Regions from separate parts of the Homo sapiens genome. Here region 1 is linked to region 2. The links are contacts of gene promoters, found by promoter capture Hi-C in human tissues and cell types (Jung and others, 2019). All regions are on one chromosome and are shown on one strand. Each heading gives the region's core, a stretch centred on a gene start or on the middle of the fragment in contact. The rest is flanking DNA. Distances are from core to core; before and after follow the strand shown.

Region 1 (4,025 bases), core at 795-3,294, 220 kb before region 2:
AAATGGGTATAACCGAGACAGCCAAATGCCTAAGCTGATAAAAGGCCCTTGGAGAATCTCCGGCCTGCCCCGCAAGTGTTTACATCAGATGCTCTTGTGCAGATGAGGGAACTGGCCCAGGGCTGTGTCTGAGCATGTCTACATGCGCACTGGGGGAACAGGGTGGAGCCACGGGCAGGGGGAGAAGCCTGGTCTCCAGTTCCGTGTCCTAGCCGGGAGGATTCAATCTGTGAGGTGGGGAGCCTGTTAGCATGACTCTTATCTTGCTTTGCTGTTTTTTTTTCCCTTTTTGCCCAATAAAATCCTGTCCTACTCACCTTTTAATGTGTCTGCGTACCTAAATTTTCCTTGTTATGTGATAAGAACCCAGCTTTAGCTGCAACATAATGACTCCACATATATATACTAGAAGTGTTAGAGAATGAAACAAGTATATGTTGCACAGGTCCTGATATATACCAAGCACTCACTAGTAACAACATCCGTAGCAGTAGCAGGAGAAAATAAGACTAAATGAGATCAATTAGACTATTTAGCCTATAGCTGTCAAAGAAAAAACACAATTCTGCACACAGCCACCTAGATGAATCTCTACTAAAATAAGTTTTAGGTTCTTAATTTGCATTTAAGATGTGAAATTGATGGTGGCTTACCTTTTATTAACTGGTAACCCTACTAGCTACCACATATTTTATTCAATATTGTCACTTAATCATCTCATTAACACTGCAAGAAAGATGATATTATCCCATACGGAGGAGAAAACTGAATCTCAGAGAATTCCAGAGACTAGTTCTCCGACTGGGAAGTAGTAGTGATATGATTTCAACCTTAGTCTCCCTAAATTCAAAATATGTCATATTTTAAATAATTTACACAACTTTATTTTACATTAGTGAAAGACATAGTATTGCAGAAAGTAGCAAGGAACTAATTAATGTTCCTGCAAGTGAGAGGGTAAGATGACGGATTTTTCTCTATGTCACTTTTCATTTTCCCCCGTAAAGGAATATACAGACAAATACATACAGATAGAGATATAGTAGTAGGTATAAGAAGTCAAAAATACATGATATTTCTAGCTTGACAATGTGCTCTAAAAAGAAATTGAACCGCGTGAGAAGCCAACCAACCAACAAATAACTGTATGTTTTAGCATGGCAGATGCTGGGATAACTGCCTATTTCTTGCTGGATAGCAAATTAAACGTTATCCTAAAAGATGGATACATTCTTGTCAGTGTATAAAATACAACAGTCCTAAAGAGAAAATAATGCATAGCTATGTGTTACCCAATAATTCCCTGAATATCCATATCCTCTGGTTCTGTCTAAAAAGGTTAAATGGCTCTAAATCTGTCTGCTAGACTCATAAGGAACTATGCATTGCTCTGGCTAGTCAGGAAATTTAATTTTCTTCTGAAATTAACCAATTGTGCATAGAGAGAGGGAAGCTGCTCTCCATGATCCAACTGGGGTGGAGGTGGGGGCAGAGGACTGTAGAACTGCAGAACAGATGTTGAAAAATATGGTTTGTGATTCTTAAGTTCTCATCCCATGGAGCCAAGCCAGGTTTAATAAAAAATGTGTGGGCTCCCCCTTCTGAATGACATGCCAAAGGCTGCTGTAAATGCTTTGAAACAGCATTTGTCCCTTCTTTGGGTAGAACCATAGATGCTGAAGAACTAGCACTTGCCTGACATCTATCAGAAGCACAGATATGCCTGTGTCATCAAATAGTGCTTTATCTGTCCATCTCTTCCTGGTAAAAACAGTCTCAAATCCCCTTTAGCTTTCCTGAAAATGAAATGCTTCTAAGCTGGACAGTTATTTCTAAACAGCCTCAAGCTTCCTCTACACAAACTTTCCTGCCAGTAACAGTAATAAAAGTAGCAATAGCAATAATAATAACTAGCAACTACAATGAGAATCTTCTCTTGATTCCCTGTGAACTGGAATTAGTATCAGTAAATCTCCATTTTTACATCAGTAAAATGAATAGATTATAAAATGTGCAACCATATGTGGACAACTATGAACCTGGATTTATAGCTAGCTCTGCCAATAAGATGCTACTTTTACTATGGCATGAAAGTTCCTTAAGCCTCATCTCTAGATGATTAAGATCGTGTCTCTGCACAGCCAGTCCATTCCCACTGGTACCATGTAGTCCATGTTGGGAGCTTATATTATTGTGCTGATATCTGAACCCTTATTTTCCCTAAGGACCCTTGGCTTGGCAGACTCTGAAGCCCTTACATGCTCCTGGCTGACAAGAGTAGAAACCTTGTCAAATCAAGCACTAAAACCGGTCCTCTGATTGGTGTCTCAGTTGAACCAATCTCATTTCCTCCCTTCACATTCTTTCTCCTGCTTGGAGATGTAAAGGATGTGGCAACTACTCCTTTTTGAGTTCCTTTCAGAGGAAATTGAGAAACATAGGAACAGGGCAGATTCATCCACTCAACAAATATCATTGTCCCCATTAATGTCAGCATTCCAGCATAAAGCCATTGCATAATTTCACTATATTTTCCGGAAATTAATGCCAATGTAAATTTTTTTTTGGATATTCCTCCCATTGCATTCAACATTGGCCCATTAATAGATATAATTTTCTTAGCCAAATACCCTTATTTTTTGCATATGTCTATAGTTTGTGAAATTTCTTTAGAACTGAGAATGGCCAATGGACCATTTCTCAAATCCCCAGGTAGTTTCATCTTCTTAGAGGTTAGACTCTTCTGCAGGAAGAGTCTTCTTTGCATACTTATTGGCTGTAGTCTTATTTGTTATTCTGAATTTAGAAATGATTTGTACTTAAAAACAAAAAGTGCTCTTCTGGGTCTGTAAATAATTTTTGTACAAATTCAACTTATTTGGGGTGCTGATTGTCCTGCAAGGTTTTAATCTCAGCCTCATAGTCTCAGCACCCTTGTGAGTAACAGGAATTTAATACATTTTTTAAAAAATCGAATAAATAAACCGACAGATAACTCACTTTACCAGGGTTTCCCCAAATGAAGTAATTGGAAGCAGGTCTGCCCTAGTTATTTGTGACTTGTAAATTGAAAGGGTTTGGTATGAGCTGACATCAAACTCAGAAATCAGCTGGACAATTCTTTAAAATTGTATTCCTCCATCTACTTCTTACTCTCTATCTCCTTGATTTTGCAACAAATATTTGTAAGACAATATTTGAAATCCACACTCAAAACACATCATTAGCCAACACTTCACCCTTGGAGACCAGCATAGAAGTTATAGATTTTCAGTGTGCTTTCAGGAGAAAGCTATTTAGCTGGAGAACCTGTACTGTCATTTGGGTGACTGGAAAAAGAAAAAAGATGTGTACAGTACAACAGAAAAAAAAAATCGAATGGAGCTTCATTTCTAAAAAAGACAGAAAAGCTTTAATAAAGAATTATTTCGCATCCTGGGGAAAAATTTTGAGCAGAAAAACTATAAACAGAGGGTATTTTTGAAATGGCAGAGAAAGATTTTTATCTAGGAGACACCAAACCAGATATGCTGACCTATCAGAAATGTCCAAGAAGTAATAAAAAGATCATTTCAAAGCCAAACACCAAATGCAGAAATAAAATAGGAGCCTCTTAATGCATTGACACTATGGTCTCGTGCCTCTAAATTCTAATATATAATTCACCATAACTGTCAAAAGAGACAGAGGACAAACTAGCAATGCTTCCCCAAAGCTAAACAAACAAACAAAAAAAGCACTAACAAACAAAAACATAAAAATAACAAGATCCACCCAAATGTATTGCAAACATTTGCAACTTTGCATTTTCATAGAGCTCTCTAAGAGCTGGAATAGCTGTATTCATCTTATTGTTCCTGGCTCTGGGCTCTATGTAGCACTTAGTAGGCATACGTGTGCGTGTACACACCACACACACACACACACACACACACACACAGTATGTGCCAACCAACATTATTTGGTCATGTGAGCATAGTCCCAAGGAGAGCCCCACAGAAGGTACAAGCAAAGGCATTTTTCAC
Region 2 (4,110 bases), core at 990-3,489:
ACACACACACACACACACACGCACACGAAGAAATCCCTGCAACACTGGACACAGCTGATGCAAAGCAATATCTAGGCAGGGATTTTACTGGTATTTAGCATGAACGACAGGGCTCACTTTGCATGCAGTGAGGTGCAGCAGCGAGGCTGAATGGATGGAAAATCCCACTTTCGAATCTTACATAAACATCTTTCCCACATATAGTTTTCCAGTTGAAAAGCTCCTATAATAAAGCCTGAGGTGACAGCCCAAGGAGGGTTTTTAACCATTGAGATGGCTGTCAGGAGTGTTGTAAAGAGAACAGGCGCTTCAAAAGCCAGCCCCCATCCCTCGGATCTGCTTTGCGATGGTACCGGATGCGAGAGGACAGTACTCTCGCTTACCTTCCCTAGCGTCCCCTCGTTCCCATTGTCAGCCCCCAGATATCATGACGCCAGGTGAAAGAAAGCAGCTGATCTGATTAGCAGCTCGGGCGCGCTAAGGGATTGTCGAATCATGCCTCCTAAGGAGGAAACTCTTGTGGAATCTTCAGGAAAGGGTGGTAAAGTTGAAAGGACCTTTCCTCCCTCCCGCTGTCTTGGTGATAAGCTCTATCGTTTAATTGGTGCTGAAGTGAGCAGCTGCCAGCCCGATTTTCCATTACGGACTAATATTGTGCGTTTGCAACAATAAACAATTAATGTGGTTTGATTTCTTACATTTAGCAACCCAAGCAAACAGCTGCCATCTCCGCTGGTGGAGGCAAACGGCTAGTCCTTGACATGCCGCCGGCTCCGTGCCTGCGGGGGAAGGGTCAACCGCAAGGAAACTTTGAGGATTCTGCCAGACTGGGTGGGGGAAGGCTCTGGTGTTTGGGAGGAATAAGCGGAGGAAATTGTGGATACCTGTTGGCATCAGCGTTGGCGGCAGCACGTTTTTTTACCGTTTCCCAGCCTTGGCTGGATCCTGGGAGAACCGGAGTAGGTCCCTTATGAACCTCTTACGTACTGGCAGAACCTAGGCAAGAGCCTTTTTCCCTCCGATCCTGCGAGGGGCGCGACCAGCCCCTCAAAGGTTCCCGGATGAGAAGCGGCCAGACCACAGAAAGCGCAGGTCTGGGCTCAGCTGTCCCTAGGAGAGCGGCTACGGAGTCCCCGGCTTAAGGGGGCCTCCGTGCACGCAATCTCGAGTTGCGGGGAGACACTGCCTGGGGGTCCTGCAGGGGTGCTGGGCAGCGTCTTGGCGAGGGCAGAGCCGCAGGGCGACTCCGGAGCCCGGCAAGTTTGTAGCGGGCACCGCACCTCCCAGAGCTGGAGCTGCCACTTGTGGGAAAGCCTCGCGCTGGGGCTTTCGCAGCTGAGCCTTGGCCCGCAGCCCTGCCGCGGGGGTCGCCCTCCCTCGCCTCGGAGATGAGGCGGTGCAGAAAACCAGCCATAGACCACTCGGGCCCCCTCGCCTCCTTTTTTCCCTGGCTTGCACCCTCCGCACAGCGGGCTGCAGGTGCTTCCCATTCACCGCACGGACCCCGCAGTGAAGGCGCGCGGCTGCAGCCGCGCCTGCCTGCGTTGGGAAGCGGCGAAATAGCCAAGTCGCCGCAGGGAAGGAAACCGGCAGGAAAACTGGAGGGGCACAGCCTGGAGCTTGCTACTCTCTAGGATCTGTTGTCAAAGCAGTTTGCAAAAACAGTCAGGCAAAACCTTGAGGCGTACGTACGTTATCACCCACGGATATCGCGAAAGACACAGCTTAGCCCAGAGCCTATGCTAAGAACCCTCATCCACCATCTGAGGGGCAGGAGGCGCGCAAGGTGTCCGAAGGGGCATGGGAATTCCTATAAGAAACGGTCCCTTCTGGATAGTCGGAACATAGAGGAAAACGGGGGTGGGTTAGGGGAACACTTACTCTTGTGGGGCCCTGCGCTGGCGAATGTCAAGCCTCCAGGTTCACAAATGGCTGGAGGTGCTCGGGGTTAGCTCCCGAGGGCGGCAAGCGCCGACCGGTCCTCGCTCGCTAGGCAGGCGCCTCCGGATTCCGTTCATGCCTCTCGGAGCTACAGGGCTTGGTGCGGAGACGCAGGGCGGGCGCGCTGGGCTCTGGGTGTCCGCAACCCAAAGTGCAGCTGGTGTCTTGACGCTACCGTCTATGCACAAGCCGGCGGCGGCGGCGGAGCTTGGAGGAGGCAGGGAGATTCCAAATAAATCCACTAATTCTGGGCTGAGCGCTCCGGCGTGCGAGCCCGCCTGCCTGCCAAATGTAACTGTGAAGTGATGTGGAAAAGTGAGCCGGGTGCCTCCCCTGACGGATCTCATTGGGCAGAGCGCAGAGGCAGGTCTACCACTTGGAAATTCATGTAAGCAGTCCCCCCTCCCCGCCCCCTCCCCGCCTTCCCCCTTCGCTCTCCCGCGCTGGCTCGATCGCTCTCTTTCCCCCTACCCAAGTGGGCGCACAACTTTTCGCTCCTCGCTCCCGAGCAAGCCCCGCGCGTCTCTGCCGCCAGAGCCACGAGGTGAAGATGCGCCCTTCCGCGCGGTGCGCGCAGCCCGCTGAGGACCGAGCTCCTGGATAAGTGGGCTGGCAGATAATAACAGCATGCGGATGAGGTACCTGCGAGCTTTCTCTCTAGAGGTCTCACCTGAGCTCTGGGGCTGGCGTTATGTTGAAAAGCGTCTCAGTGACCCGCAGCTATTTTCCGTAGGAGGAAGAGGACGCGACAGGGCAAAGGGTTGAGCGTGGGCAGCTTACCTCCTCTTTATTCCAAGGGCCTCTTGCGTACAGAATAGGGTGATTGTGAGACCCCTGCCTGCAACTCAGACGCTATGTAGAGGCTGTGTGTCGCGGTTCTGTGATGGAGCGCATTCCTGATGTCCCCGTGCTCCTTTGGGAAAATGGGATGAGGGACAGCAGAGTGGCAGCCAGGAGGGGCGCGCAGTAGTTGGTTGTGGGGAGGAGGGCAGGCAAAGCAGAACTTGCTTGGGAAATAGGGGAGGAATTTCTAGGTCTTCTCAATGTGCCCTGATCTTGTCATATCCTCTCAGATACCATCCTTGCGGTTCTCCTGCCTCCACCAAGACCTGCCCTGTCTGTGGTCACTTCAAGTCTTCTGATGGGCTGCGCTCAGATCTTGAGAAATGGCCACCCTGGGGTAAAAGGGACCATGAATCAGGAGGTCCAGATTTCTTTTCTTTTTCAACACTGGGGCTAACATGTAGACGATGCCACAGTCATCATCTTCTAATAAAATTAGATAAATATAAGACAAATAAATTCTTACCTTAAAAAAAAAAACCCTCCCCTCCACAGGAGATCCCGATTTAGTCCCTTCCCTGTGTGCACTAGACGTGAGCCTGAGGGTGGATTTTACCATCTGGGGACAGAGCAAGAACAGAAGGGGGAAAAAGGTGCAGGGGACAAGACGCACAGTCTGTAGAGCTTGTACTGTCTCACTCAAATTAATGAGAAAGAGTGAACAGAATGAGAAAATAGGCACAACATGCTTATGATATTTATGCAAATTTGACATTTTTTTGTGTGCTGCATCTGACAACCCATTGTGAAATGTGAAAAAGAGTATTGGCTGTAGCTCTAATATCTGATTGTTTCATGTTCTAGCTGTCATAGGCAAGAAACTTAGTGGATTATTTCAGAGAGGGAGAGGTGAAGAGAACCAAGTGGTATTTTTTTTCCCCCAGGCAGTCACTAAGTAACTGTTTGTTCTCTTCTCAGACTGTGTCTGCTTACAGGGTATTGGAATTGGCTAATTCTGTCTTGGAAAAAGGAGCAGCAGTCAAGGCTCAATCAAATTATAACTGCTGCTAGACCAGACAGTCCCAAGTGGACAAAGAAATAGATCACATTTTGGGTTGTGCTTAATTTCAGATATTCATTTTCACTTGAACAAATAATTTGAACCGTTCCTTGGGGTAACTTCTTACATCTATGAAAACTCAAAAAAACTCATGTGCTACTGAAAGCTGGGGATTGTCACAAGTAACAAACTTGTCTCAAAAAAAAAAAAAAAAGCCAGATTGTTAGACAATATCCTCAAATCTCATTTTCTTAACAAACTATGCTGACATAGTAAAGATAGTCAGAATCCAATGGCTTTTAAAGAGAGCCAGAATCCAATGGCTT

What was found. Contacts are between HindIII fragments. The study calls those that stand out against the background at their distance.
Region 1: a fragment that was not itself captured here is called in contact with the fragment with the promoter of CDH8 in region 2 in 3 of the 25 tissues and cell types used here (aorta, dorsolateral prefrontal cortex and hippocampus).

What each region holds. Positions count from the first base shown.
Region 1 is chr16:61,813,403-61,817,427 of GRCh38, forward strand. All of the region lies in intron 7 of CDH8 (cadherin 8), which reads right to left. Among named protein-coding and RNA genes, the nearest start is that of CDH8-AS1, 100 kb to the right of the region's middle. The HindIII fragment of the contact is 4,777 bases long and covers 1-4,025 here.
Region 2 is chr16:62,034,199-62,038,308 of GRCh38, forward strand. CDH8 (cadherin 8) reads right to left here and starts at 2,240. Exons shown (of 12, transcript NM_001796.5): 1 at 1,882-2,240. It overlaps LOC124903777 (a long non-coding RNA gene), which reads left to right and starts at 2,392. Exons shown (of 2, transcript XR_007065217.1): 1 at 2,392-2,579; 2 at 3,015-3,235. RefSeq lists an enhancer at 41-542. The HindIII fragment of the contact is 11,196 bases long and covers 1-4,110 here.